Regions from separate parts of the Homo sapiens genome. Here region 2 is linked to region 1. The links are contacts of gene promoters, found by promoter capture Hi-C in human tissues and cell types (Jung and others, 2019). All regions are on one chromosome and are shown on one strand. Each heading gives the region's core, a stretch centred on a gene start or on the middle of the fragment in contact. The rest is flanking DNA. Distances are from core to core; before and after follow the strand shown. Region 1 holds the start of BRDT (bromodomain testis associated). Region 2 overlaps GLMN (glomulin, FKBP associated protein).

Evidence for each region. Contacts are between HindIII fragments. The study calls those that stand out against the background at their distance.
Region 2: a fragment that was not itself captured here is called in contact with the fragment with the promoter of BRDT in region 1 in 1 of the 25 tissues and cell types used here (IMR-90 fibroblasts).

The regions. Positions count from the first base shown.
Region 1 is chr1:91,945,157-91,951,529 of GRCh38, forward strand. It overlaps BRDT (bromodomain testis associated), which reads left to right and starts at 4,245. Exons shown (of 19, transcript NM_207189.4): 1 at 4,245-4,526. The HindIII fragment of the contact is 14,429 bases long and covers 440-6,373 here.
Region 2 is chr1:92,269,184-92,275,556 of GRCh38, forward strand. It overlaps GLMN (glomulin, FKBP associated protein), which reads right to left. Exons shown (of 19, transcript NM_053274.3): 8 at 2,282-2,469; 9 at 540-593. Among named protein-coding and RNA genes, the nearest start is that of GLMN, 27 kb to the right of the region's middle. RefSeq lists a silencer at 2,826-3,026. The HindIII fragment of the contact is 5,282 bases long and covers 765-6,046 here.

The sequences.
Region 1 (6,373 bases), core at 2,995-5,494:
TTAACTCTTAGTTTTGAGGACATTTGTGAATCTATAGTTGCTATGGAGACCAGAAGATGGGTTTCCTTTTGTTGAATCTAATGTTAGATGAAGGATGGAAACTTAAACAACAACAACAACAAAATATATATATATATATATATATATATATATATATATATATATATATATATATATTAATGACAAGGTCCTGCTATATTGCCCAGCTAGAGTGCACAGGCTATTCACAGCTGAGATCCCATTACTGATCAGCACAGGAGTTTTGACCTGCTACATTTCTTTTTGTTGTTGTTTTGTTTTGTTTTGTGATGGAGTCTCACTCTGTCGCCCAAGCTGGAGTGCAGTGGCTCATTCTTGGCTCACTGCAAACTCCACCTCCCGGATTCAAGCAATTCTCGTGCCTCAGCCTCCCAAGTAGCTGGGATTATAGGCGGGCACCATCACATCCAGCTAATTTTTTTATTTTTAGTAGAGACGGGGCTTCACCATGTTGGCTCTGCTGGTCTTGAACTCCTGATGTCAAGTGATCACCCCTCCTTGCCTCCCAAAATGCTGGGATTACAGACATGAGCTACGGTGCCCGGCCAACCTGATCCGTTTCTGACCTGGGTTGGTTCCTCCCTCCTTAGGCAACCCGGTGATCCCCCAATCACTGTGAAGGATGGAAATGTTAAAATGTCTCCAAAGTATGTTCTTGTGATAGCCTGATTTAAATGAAAAATGCATGCTACCTGAAACTCTTTGATGATTTTTTAAAAAATCATAATTACGAGTATTTCCATATGTCATAGAATAGCCTCATAATATCCTAGTCTTCAGCCACTTTCTTTTTTTTTTTTTTTGAGATGGAGTCTCAGTCTGTCGCCCAGGCTGGAATGCAGTGGTGTAATCCTGGCTCACTGCAACCTCCGCCTCCCAGATTCAAGCAATTCTCCTGCCTCAGCCTCCCGAGTAGCTGTGATTACAGGCACCCACCACCACACCTGGCTCATTTTTGTATTTTTAGTAGAGACGGGGTTCACCATGTTGGCCAGGCTGGTCTCAAACTCCTGATCTCAGGCGATCCGCCCACCCCGGCCTCCCAAAATACTGGGATTACAGGCGTGAGCCACTGCGCCCAGCCCACTTTCTTTTCCATATTTTTGAAGCTACTTTCCCCTACCATTTTTCTGTCATACACCCCTGGCAAATCTCAATGCTACTACCTCATTTCTCCACAAACAGTCACCAATTTCTGTGTCTTCACTGTCTCAAGTATGTCTTACTAAATGCACATTTCCAATCAGCTTGTTCTGTTCTCTGTAATAATTATTTAGAAAAATTTCCACTCTCTCCTAACCTCCTTCCTGTCCTTCTTTCCCATCTTTAGCCTAGACTGTATTTTGAACTGGTTAATCAACTTCTTATTCAAAATCTCCACCTAGATATCTTACAGAATATTCAAAACTGAAATAATGATCTTCAACCTTCTAAGACTGATTCCCTTTCAGTAAATGGTGCCATTCTCCAAATGCTCAATGCAACCCAGACCATCTTTACATCTAATCTAATACCAAATCCTAGTGGGGAGGTCTACCTCCCAAATAAACCCATTCTCCATATTCTCCATTTTTGCAGCCATTTCAAGTTAAAAAAAAAAGAAAACAAAAATAACAGAAAACAAAAGAAACTTCAAATCTGGTCTTTTTACTTTCCCCACCCCCTTAATTCAAATCTAATTTGCCAGAGTCATTAAAACCCAGGCAGGGCCTGGTGCAGTGGCTCACGTCTGTAATCCCAGCATTTTGGGAGGCCAAAGCAGGCGAATCATTTGAGGTCAGGAGTTCAAGACCAGCCTAACCAACATGATAAAACCCCATCTCTACTAAAAATACAAAAAAAATTAGCTGGGCGTGGTTGCACATGCCTGTGGTCCCAGCTACTTGGGAGGCTGAGGCAGGAGAATAGCTTGAACCCAGGAGGTGGAGTTTGCAGTGAGCCATGATCATGTCATTGCCCTCCAGCCTGGGTGACAGAGCAAGACCCTGTCTCAAAAAAAAAAAAAAAACAAAAGGCAGGATCGAAGGGTAATTTACTCAATGATAATATACTTTAAAAGTTTTTGATACTTTGCACTTATGGTACATACTGTCTAGTGCAGGAAATAGACATTAAATATACCACTGGCTATACAGTTGTAATTAGTGCTATTTAATTAGGTTGTAATAAGAGTGTTTAACAGGAAGACCTAATCCAGTGGAGGCCCCCTTGAGGAAATGACTTCAGCCTGAGAGTTGAGGAATCAGTGTGGGATCGGAGGAAGGATGAAAGAGCCAATTGTAGAAGCCCAGAGACAAAGGATAGGGTCCTGGAAAGAGCTGAAAGGTCACTGGCTGAAGATGGGGGCACTACTGAAGGTGTAGTTGGAGCTGAAGGCATGTAGGACTTTTTAGCTCATCTTAAGGGGTTTGCTTTTTATCCTAAAAATAATGGAAAGTAATTGAAAGGTTTTAAGGGTGGTAACATGATGAGATTTAGCTTTTTGTTTGTTTGTTTGAGATGCAGTCTCGCCCTGTTGCCCAGGCTGGAGTGCAGTGGCACGATCTCGGCTCACTGCAACCTCCACCTCCCAGGTTCAAGCGATGCTCCTGCCTCAGACTCCTGAGTAGCTGGGATTACAGACCCGTGCCACCACGCCCAGCTAATTTTTGTATTTTTAGTAGAGACAGGGTTTCACCATGTTGGTCAGGCTGGTCTCGAACTCCTGACCTAGTGATCCACCCCTTCCCACCCCCACCCCCAGCCTCCCAAAGTGCTGGGATTACAGGCATGAACCACCGAGCCCAGCCTGAGATTAAGCTTTTTAAAAGATGGTTCAGAAGGCAATGTGGTGGTCTGCACCTACAGTACCTGGAGAGGCTGAGGTAGGAGGATGCTTGAGCTCAGGAGTTCGAGACTACCTTGAGTTATGATTGCATTGCTTCATTCCAGCCTGGGCCACAGAGCAAGACTCAATCTCAAAAAAATCACTCAATCTTCTTTACCTAGAGTGTACATGTCTCCCTGCCACTAATTCTCAAGAGGAAGGTCAAAAAGTTGATAGTTGGGGCAAAATTTGTACTGAGTCATTCCTCTCTTTCATTTCCCTTGACTTCTTTCAGATTTTTCATGATGTGAGAGTCACACCCTAAGTCTGTACCCATCTACTCTTTTCCTGAACAATAAGATAATCTCTATATCTAATCTCTAATCTATTAGAGTTTCACGTTGTTGCTCTGGCTGGCCTTGAAACCTTGGGATTAAGTGAGCCTTCCGCTTTAACCTCCCCAGTAACGGGCATTGCAGGCGCCTGCAGCCACACCATTAATACTACTTTAAACAGCAAAAACAAGAACACGAAAATTAAATCTAAACAAAAAGTGCTTGCCAATCCAGGTATTTATGTGACGTCTAGTAAGTAGATCAAGTGCGTTGCTTTCTTGTGAACACTTGGTTCTTTCCTGCCACATCAAAGTGATTGAATTAAGACGTGTCAAGCTGTTAATGGCCCCCAGACTTCCGCTTCAGGAAACTGGAGATCGATGGTTTTTTGGCCGGATTTGCGAGCAGCTTGTCAGCTGTTTTTGCCCTCCCCTTCCCATCCATCCACTGCGAATGAGTATTAGGAATTCAGAAGCGTTGTTTGCTATTTGATCCTAAGGGAAACTACTGTACTAAATATATTCTTCTGATACATGTTAGCACCTCTAAAGTATCTGCAAACCATCAAGAGGTAGTTGCGAAGACTCAAAATCCTAAATCACGCACTCATCAGTACGCAGCTGTTGCGAAACAGCTCTTAAATTGCCACTTTAAACCCAAAGAGAGTATGTCTCTAGCCTCAGCTGCTACCTAATATTGATCAAGCACTCACTACGTGCAAGAGACAGGAACTGTGGAGAAGGCTGGGGAAAAAAGCGTGAAAACCACGAAAACATCAGAAGCCAAAACTCAAGAACCTCTACTAGGCTAACTGATTAGTGAAAACGTCGTGTTAACAGCAAACGCCTTGAGTGTAGCGCTCCTACTCCTAACCCCCGGCTCTCTACACGGCAATCACCCGAACCCACTCTGCCTGCCCTAACAGGCCTGAGCTGCCCGGCTCAGACTCCTACACCTTTTTTGCACCGCCCGGGGCTGGGTGTGGTCACGTGACAGGTTCAGACCAATGGGCAGGCCGCCCGCGGGGGGTCTTCTATAAAAGCGCCTGTCGCGCGACCGCCATTACAACAAAAACTGGCGGCGAGGAACTGCGGAGAACTGTTGCCCTGCACCGCTTCATTTTGTGCAGCCTGAAAGGGGCAATCACATAAGGTCGGTTTTGTAATATACAGGTAACATACAGGTAATGTACCCTCCACAGGGGGTGCTGCCTTAGGCCGGCCCCGAGGTGCGGCCTTGGGTGGGAACAACCGTTTTTTCCCCCCTCTCCCCTCCCCGACCCCATCAACATCGTGCGACAGTCCGGGCAGTTGAGAAGGCCACCCCGCTTCGTGCCTGCAGCCCAGGTGAGTTGCCAGTCGCTTCCCTTTGGCCTTACCAACTTCAGGCTCGTTGCCCCCAAGGGATCTTTTTCTCTCTCTCCCTCTTTTCCCCTAAATGTCTGGTTTTTCTTCAAGGGAGGGCTGGGAAGGAGGAGGTTGGGGCGAGGGAGTGGGAGGTCCAGTTGTCCAACTGCCTCCTCCCATTTTGAAAAATACTCATGGTCTTTGTAGTTCCTCTTAGGTCTTGGACTGGTGTGGATCGCTGCTGCCTGTACTGTAATTTTGGAAATGCAGGAGAAAGTACGGAGCGTTTAGCTTTAGCTGGCATTTTGTGTTTATTCTGCAAGTGGTCATTTGGGACGGGGAAGTTCGGGTTCTTGCTTCATTTATTTATTCAATTAACTTTATTAAGCCCCTGGAACGTCTGAACCCTCTTTTGGGTACTGCAGGATTGTGGTGGGCTTTACTTCAAGGCGCGCTGGCCTGTATTAAGAATTAAGATAGAGGAGGCCGGGTGCAGTGGCTCGCCCCTGTAATCTCAGCACTTTCGGAGGCCGAGGCAAGTGGATCACCTGAGGTCAGGAGTTCAAGACCAGCCTGGCCAACATAATGAAATGCCCATCTCTACCAAAAATACAAAAATTAGCTGGGTGTGATGGCAGGCGCCTGTAGTCCCAGCTACTCGGGAGGCTGAGGCAGGAGAATCGCTTGAACCCAGGAGGCGGAAGTTGCAGTGCGCCGAGATCACGCCAGTGCACTCCAGCCTGGGCGACAGAGTGAGACTCCGTCTCCCCGCTCCCCCCAAAAAAGAAAGAGGTATGTACAGGGACTTTGGGACTCAAGGGAAAGGCCTGGGTGGATGGGAGGGAATGAGAGAGGCTCTTGGGCAGAAGTGATAACTCGTCTTGATCTTGAGGGACAAATAGAAGTTAGACTAAAAAGTGAGGAGGGAAGTTCAGGTAAAGAGAAGTTTCTCAAAGGCATGGATGTATGTACACCGAGTAGGATGTGACAGTGGATAATTGCTTTTTTTTTTTTTTTTTTTTTTTTAATACAGATAGCTGCTATGGCTGGGCGATCTCAGAGGATCGCCTGAGTCGCTCACGCCTGTAATCCCAGCACTTAGGAGGCCGAGGCGGGTGGATCACCTGAGGTCAGGAGTTTGAGACCAGCCTGGCCGACATGGCGAAACCCCATCTCTACTAAAAATAGAAAAATTAGCCGGGCATGGTGGTGGGTGCCTGTAGTCCTAGCTAGTTGGGAGGCTGAGGCAGGAGAATGGCTTGAACCCAGGAGGAAGTGGATGTGGCAGTGAGCTGAGATCGGGCCACTGCACTCTAGCCTGGATGACAGTGAGACTCCGTCTCAAAAAAAAAAAAAGAGATGGTCCTGCTGTGTTGCCCAGGTTGGAGTATTGACAGGCACTGTCATGGCCAACTACAGCCTGAACTGACCTCAAGCGATTCTTCTGCCTAAGCCTACTGGCTAGCTAGTACTACAGATACCCTGCCTCACTGTCGCTGACCGTGTTGGGAATTGGTGAAGTAGCAAGAGATGAGTCTAGTAAGGGGGCAGATTATAAAGGGGTTTGTATAGCATGAAGGACAGTGAGTTGAACTGTATGATCTTAAGCAACACCATTGCATAATTTATGTGGTGACTAGTGATTGAATAAAAGCAGTGGTTTATTGGATGGAGAATAGGAAAACAGTAAGTATCTCGAATATTTAAATTATATTCAGCAGTCATTTGTGCCCATGTATTTGATACTTTGAAGTGGCTGAGATTGGCATAAGGCGGGGCGGCAGGGTGGCGGGGGGGCGTGTATAGATGGAATTAAAAAAAAAGAAAAAAAAGGCTGGGCGCGGTGG
Region 2 (6,373 bases), core at 2,156-4,655, 320 kb after region 1:
GAGCCACCGTGCCTGGCTTTTTTTTTTTTTTTTTAAATAGAAAGTCCTGCTGCTTAGCACCTCAAATGAGAAAAGTTGTAATTGAATGACATCACTGTCAATAATCTAAATTATAAAAGGTGGAAGTCAAGACACCTCCTTCCTTTTGATGCAATTCACAGACTGTGTCCATGAAGGAAAAATACGGAAGAACTTCTTTTATTGACTGCCCTTCCTTAAGATGGAGGAGGATGCAGTGGGGTAGAGGTGTTTTAATTTACCAACTTTTGGAGTAAGAGAAGAAACCTTAGAAACAGATGACTGTAAAAGCCCTTAAGACAAAATCTTAATACTGTCTTAAGTTTAAAATAAAACAGACTTTGGTGTAAAACCTCCTTGACTCATTTCTGTCTCTCTCGTGAATTATTTGCCTCGCTGTTTTATAAAATAACCAATTAATTAATTAGAGCTTAGCAAAGAAAAGGCAGTCTCCGCTGATCTTAACAAGGACTATTTTAACACTACTATTTCATTTTGAGATACCATCTAAACGATCTTACCTTTGCAAAAAGACTTCAATGTGCCCCATATTAAACTGCAAAAGGTACAATGGGCTAAAATAGAAACAAAACAAATATATATATTATACACACACACAGAGATATGTACACACATACATATTGTTATGGGTTGAATTGTATCTCCCCCAAAAAAGATATGTTGGAGTCCTAACCTCTAGTACCTCAGAATTTGACCTTATTTGGAGATAGGGTTATGGAGGTAATCAATTTAAAATGAGATTATTAGGGTGGGCCCTAATCCAATATGACTGTTGTCCTTATGTAAAAGGAAAGTTTGGAGACAGACACAAGCACACAGGGAGAACAGCATACGAACATGAAGGCAGAGAACAGGATAATGCATCTACAAGCCAAAGACCATCAAAGATTGTGAGCAAATCACCAGAAGCCAGGAGAGAGGCATGGAGAAGATTCTCCTTCACAACCCTCAGAAGGAGCATCCAGAACTATGAGACAAACTATTTCTGTTATTTCAACCATCCAGTTGGTAGCACTTTTTTACAGGAGCCCTAGCAAGTTAATATACATATGCTGTATAAGTTATTTTGGTGATAGAATGTGATGCTTAAGAGTATAGGCTCTGGGGTCAGACAGAGCTATCTGCATCCCACCTATGCCACAAAGTAGTTAGATCTTCAGTGGTATATTAACTTGTCTAAGCCTGTTATTTTCATCTGTAAAATGAGAGAATGCTCTATTTCACAGGCTTATTATAAGGATGAGATAATGCATATAAAGTTATTAGCATAATGTTTCATACATGGTGAACATGCAAATGATAGCCAGTATTTCAACATTTACATACGAATGTACTCCTAGCTATATTCATATATAAATGCACAAACTCACACAAATACCCAATGCCTATAAGACAAATACACAATCCTTATTATCATAGAACTCAAAGTCCAGAAGATATTACATTATAAAATTATATATTTTAAAAATAATTTTAATAAACATTGTGGGAAAAGAAGACAAGGTCAAGGTAATTATAATAGAAGGATTCAACCTAAATTGGGTGGTGAGTGAAGGCTTTCTTCAGAAAGTGACATTTAAGGATAAAGAGAATTTTAAGCATATACAAAGGCCAAATAGGAAAATTCATAACATTTAAACTAGAAACAAAAGAAGGTCTGTGTCACTGGAGCATAGTAAACAAGAGGAAAGGTGGTAGGAGATGAATCAGGTCAATTAAGCAGGGACCAGACCAGGCACAAGTTTGTCTCAGAAGTTATGCAAAGGCATTAAGACTTTATTCTTAAAGCAATAAAAAGCCACTGGAGGGTTTTCAGTAAGGGACTTCTTTTAAGGCTTCGCTTTCTGGTATGTTGAGAATGTGTTAAATTAAAAGGAAGTAAAAGTAGATATATAAATCCACTCAGGATTACAGCAGTAATCCAGTGAAAAGATGATGATACCCCTGGGTACCTGGCTAGTTCCAGGGTGGTCTCAAAAGCTTCAAAACCAAGCCCTGTTTATCATCTTCTGATTCTTGTCCCCACCATTCCCTTACACCTATTTCAACACTCCCCACTTTCATTACTTGTCTACTGCTATCTTTAACAGATTATAGCTGGGATCATTCTTATTAAAAATAGCCTTTACTATTTATTTAAAATGTATTAGTGTGTTAATATGCATATATTGGACATTAGATAAATGAGAATTTTATGAAATTCCTTTTAGAATACATGAATAAACCAAACACTAACTCTTACCTTAAGACCATTGGAAGCTGATCAATATGGATGCCCTGTACAAATACTAGATATGCCAGAGAAGCCATTGAGTCTGCTAACTGTTTATTTTCTTCTTCTTCAAATTCAAGGTAATTCCAAGTTCTCTTTTTCCTTCCATGATTAAAAATCATTTTGGGGAAAGGGTGTCCAATTGCTGATAAAAAACCCTATGAAATGGATAAAAAAGGAAACCATAGCACACAGACTCTAAAATGCCCCCCACCCCGTGTATTCAAACTCCACATTCTCACCAAGGGGAGGTGTAATCACTCCCTTTGAGCGTGAGTGGGACCTATGAGACTTGCTTTCAACCAACAGAATGCGCCAAGATGTCACTCCCATGATTAGATTATATGACAAAAGTGAAGGGGTTTTTGCAGATGTAATTAAGGTCCCAAATCAGTAGATTTTGAGTTGGGTGGCCCTAACTTAATCAGGTATATTTTTAAAGGGGGTCCAGGCCTTCCCTGAGAGTCAGAAACTTTGCTCTCTGACTCTCTCCCTTGCTGGCTTTAAAGAACTAAGCTGCCATGTTATGAGAAGGCTCATGGACAGAACTACATGGCAAGGGACCAACTACAGGCAGCTCCTAGAAGCTAAATGTGGTCCCTGGCTGACAGCCAGCAAGAAAATGGGGACCTCAGTCCTACAGCTTAGAGGAAATGAATTCTGCCAGCGGAGGAAACCTGAAAGTGGATCTTTCCCCAGTTAAGCTTCTGATAAGACTACAGACCCAGTCAACAACTGGCCTGTAGCCCAATGAGACCCTGAGCAGAGGACCCAATTAAGCTGTGGCTGGACTCCTGATCCATAGAAACTGTGAGATAACAAAGGTATGCTGTTTTAAACTGCTAAGTTTGCAGGAATTTGTTATACAGCAATGAAAAACTAATACAGAAGCCAACAGCAAAATCGTATTTTACATAGCATTTTATACATCAGAAGTATTCTAAATTAATTCAGAATCATAGTTTAAAAAGTTTAAAATGATGAATTTTATGTATATTTCACCACAATTTTTTTTAAAAAAGTGCTTCAGGGATATTTGAGAGCAATCTGAAACGTGAGACATACAAATATATGAAGCAAGGGTAAAGCAACTAAGATGAAGAATACTCTAGGAACAATGCTCCACTAACATTGTGCCTGTAGAGAGTGGGATGCAGGAACGCTGGGCAGGGCAGCTGGGCCTGAGGAAACACTGTTGATCTCTCAGTCATCAGGGTTCTCATGTGAGACGAGAAAGAGAAGCATCCTTGCATGAGTGGGTAGGACCACAGGGCTAAATAAAGCTTTCCGCTCAGGAAACAAGATCACTCCTATGCCTCTTATACTGGTACTAATTCTAGCGTACCAGAAAGCACCTACCTTCAGAATCCACTGACATTGATTTTGAGTTTTGGCTCTACCATTTACTACTTGTGTGACACTGGATGAGCCATAAAATGACATAATACCTATGTCAAATATTTATCGAGCAGCTCCACAAAAAAAGCGTAAGAAAGTTAAAGTCACAACAAACTACAAGAGTTAAAAGGGAATGAATGACAAAAACAGCTAAAGCAGAATGAATAACTTCCACACAAGTCACTCTTTTATTCAATAAACACTTAAGTGCAAGGTGCTGGGCCTGACTTTGTGGGGAATTATAAAGCCAAGTATAAGTCTTTTCCAGCCTTCAGGGACTTAAAATCTGCTGATCCCAGATGGTTCCATTAGTCATTTCAGAATACAAAAAGGAACCATGGAAAATCATCCTCAGTCACAAGAGACTGCTATTCAGCGACCAGATGCTAAATATATACTGCTGCAGTGATTTTCAAAGCCATGCATTCTGGTTATAGCTACAAGACAAAAAGTTTATTGCACTCTGATTCCAAATGTCCTTAATCATGAAGCTCCATTTCTTTATTCAGCCAATGCTACATGTGTTTTTTCCAGAGTAAGGTAGCCCTGTTTTTTTTTTTTTTTTTTTTGGCGACAAGGTCTCACTCTGTCACTCAGGCTGGAGTGTAGTGGCATGATCATGGCTTACTGCAGCCTTGACTTCCCCAGGCTCAAGCAATCCACCCTCCTCAGTCTCCTGAGTAGCTAGGACTACTGGTACATGCCACCATGCCCGCTATTTTTTTTTTATTTTTTTTATTTTTTATAGAGATGGGGTTTCGCCATGCAGCCCAGGCTGGTCTTGAACTCCTGGGCTTAAGTGATCTGCCCACCTTGGCCTCCCAAAGGCCTGGGCCTACAAGCGGGAGCTACCGTGCCCAGCCTAAGATACCCTTTTTAAAACATTATTATATGCAACTAGATTCTACAGTGCTGCTCTGGATATCTGAGATCCAATCTGTTCCCAAATCTGGGCCTTCACTATCTATCCACACACCATCCAGCAGTCTTGCTCAGATCCAGGCTGTACCTGGCACCATACAATTTCTCAATATTCATGGCAGCTTTTGTCCTTTCAGAAATGTTCCTGTACTACAGCCTTTGGGACATTCTAGTAGTTCTGTACCAAAATAACTTGTACCAAAGTGAGGATGGCTGAGGCCTGTGAATCCCAACCACACCACACTTACCAGTACTTCTCCAGCACAGAACAGAAGACATCTCCTCATTTCATCTCCAAGCTGGTCTCACCTCTACTTCTAGACTGCTACGTGCATCCTTACTGCTGGCTCTTTCTACTTGCAATGTTCCTTCTACTGAGATTTTAGAACCACTCACCTACATCCTCAGTCTCTTCATAGGATGCTTGTTCTGCCTCACTGCTTTAACTAAACCTGTCTGATTTCTGGTGGGAGATGCTCATTCTCACACCTTTTATACCACAGGGCCTGGAATGCAGCTGTTGGGTAGAGGAGTACAGGTAGGGGCTTAGCACAGTATTGTAGTATTGGCTTTTTCTGTACTTTTCAACAAAAGCACATTTTCCTTTGATGCAGATAACATACTGTCCTTTTCTCTGTCATATGCTGACTTCCTGGTAATTTCCTGACATTCACTGAAGACTCTGGCACCTTCTCATAATCTTTTTCTCTACCCAATTCCTGCTATGATCCTGGGAAAATTCAATGTTCATGGAGATAACCCCTATAACAGGCTAGTCTCATGGTCCTTTATTATTATTAATTTATTTTTCAATCAAGCAACAAGTCATTGCATCCACTCTCATGGTTCTCAATTTCTAAATTCTAGTGACTTTTAGTTCTAATCCATTTCAGTACCTAATCCCATGCTGGATCTCTGAACATCTGGAACTATTCTGTATTTGATACTTTAAACTCCAATATCCCATTTTCTGACCAAAATCTGTCATCCTGTCTCTCCTAGCAATCTGCTTTTCTACTTCTGACTTCTCCAGTCCTGTGATTCCTACATTTTGACCTACCTAGGCATTCCCTCCTAACCCCCCTTCTTTCCCTATCCAACCTGAATCATGGATTATTGACCAGCTGAACTATCTGCACCCTGTATTTCCTTCAGCAGTATCTACCCAGTAAAATGCCAGCCTTGGAAAAATAACTGCAATCTACCTTCTCTGCTTCTACACACAGGGAGCTGAGTATTGCTGGATAAAAAAATACAGACTGTTACCACTATAGTTGTGGTTTCCAAGCACCATTGAGTGCTCAGTACTACTGACTCATGCTTCCGTGGTCTTCCACCATCTCTTTCCTTTCCCCTCAGTATTCCAAACCTTTACCAGTTTCCTTAAGCCCTTTTACTCAATGCCCATTTCTACCTCCTCATTATTAAGAGATCATCTCTCCTTCACCTAGAAATCTGAGGCCAGTGGGTTTGACTCCCCTCAATTGTAAGATTCCATTCCTGCTACAAATTTCTCAACATGTTTTCTTACCTTGATACCCACTAGTTCTTCCTGTCTAGGACTTTCCTTATGGCCTTGATACTATGTCCAGCCATTTGCTCATAAGCCACATTATTTCAGTTATCTCATAAACACTTGTATTTTTCCCTCAACAGTTTGCACCCCAACAGCTATAAACATGCTCAAGTCTTCCCACCTCCATTACCTTCCTACCCTTAGCTCATGTCTTCTAGCTATTACCT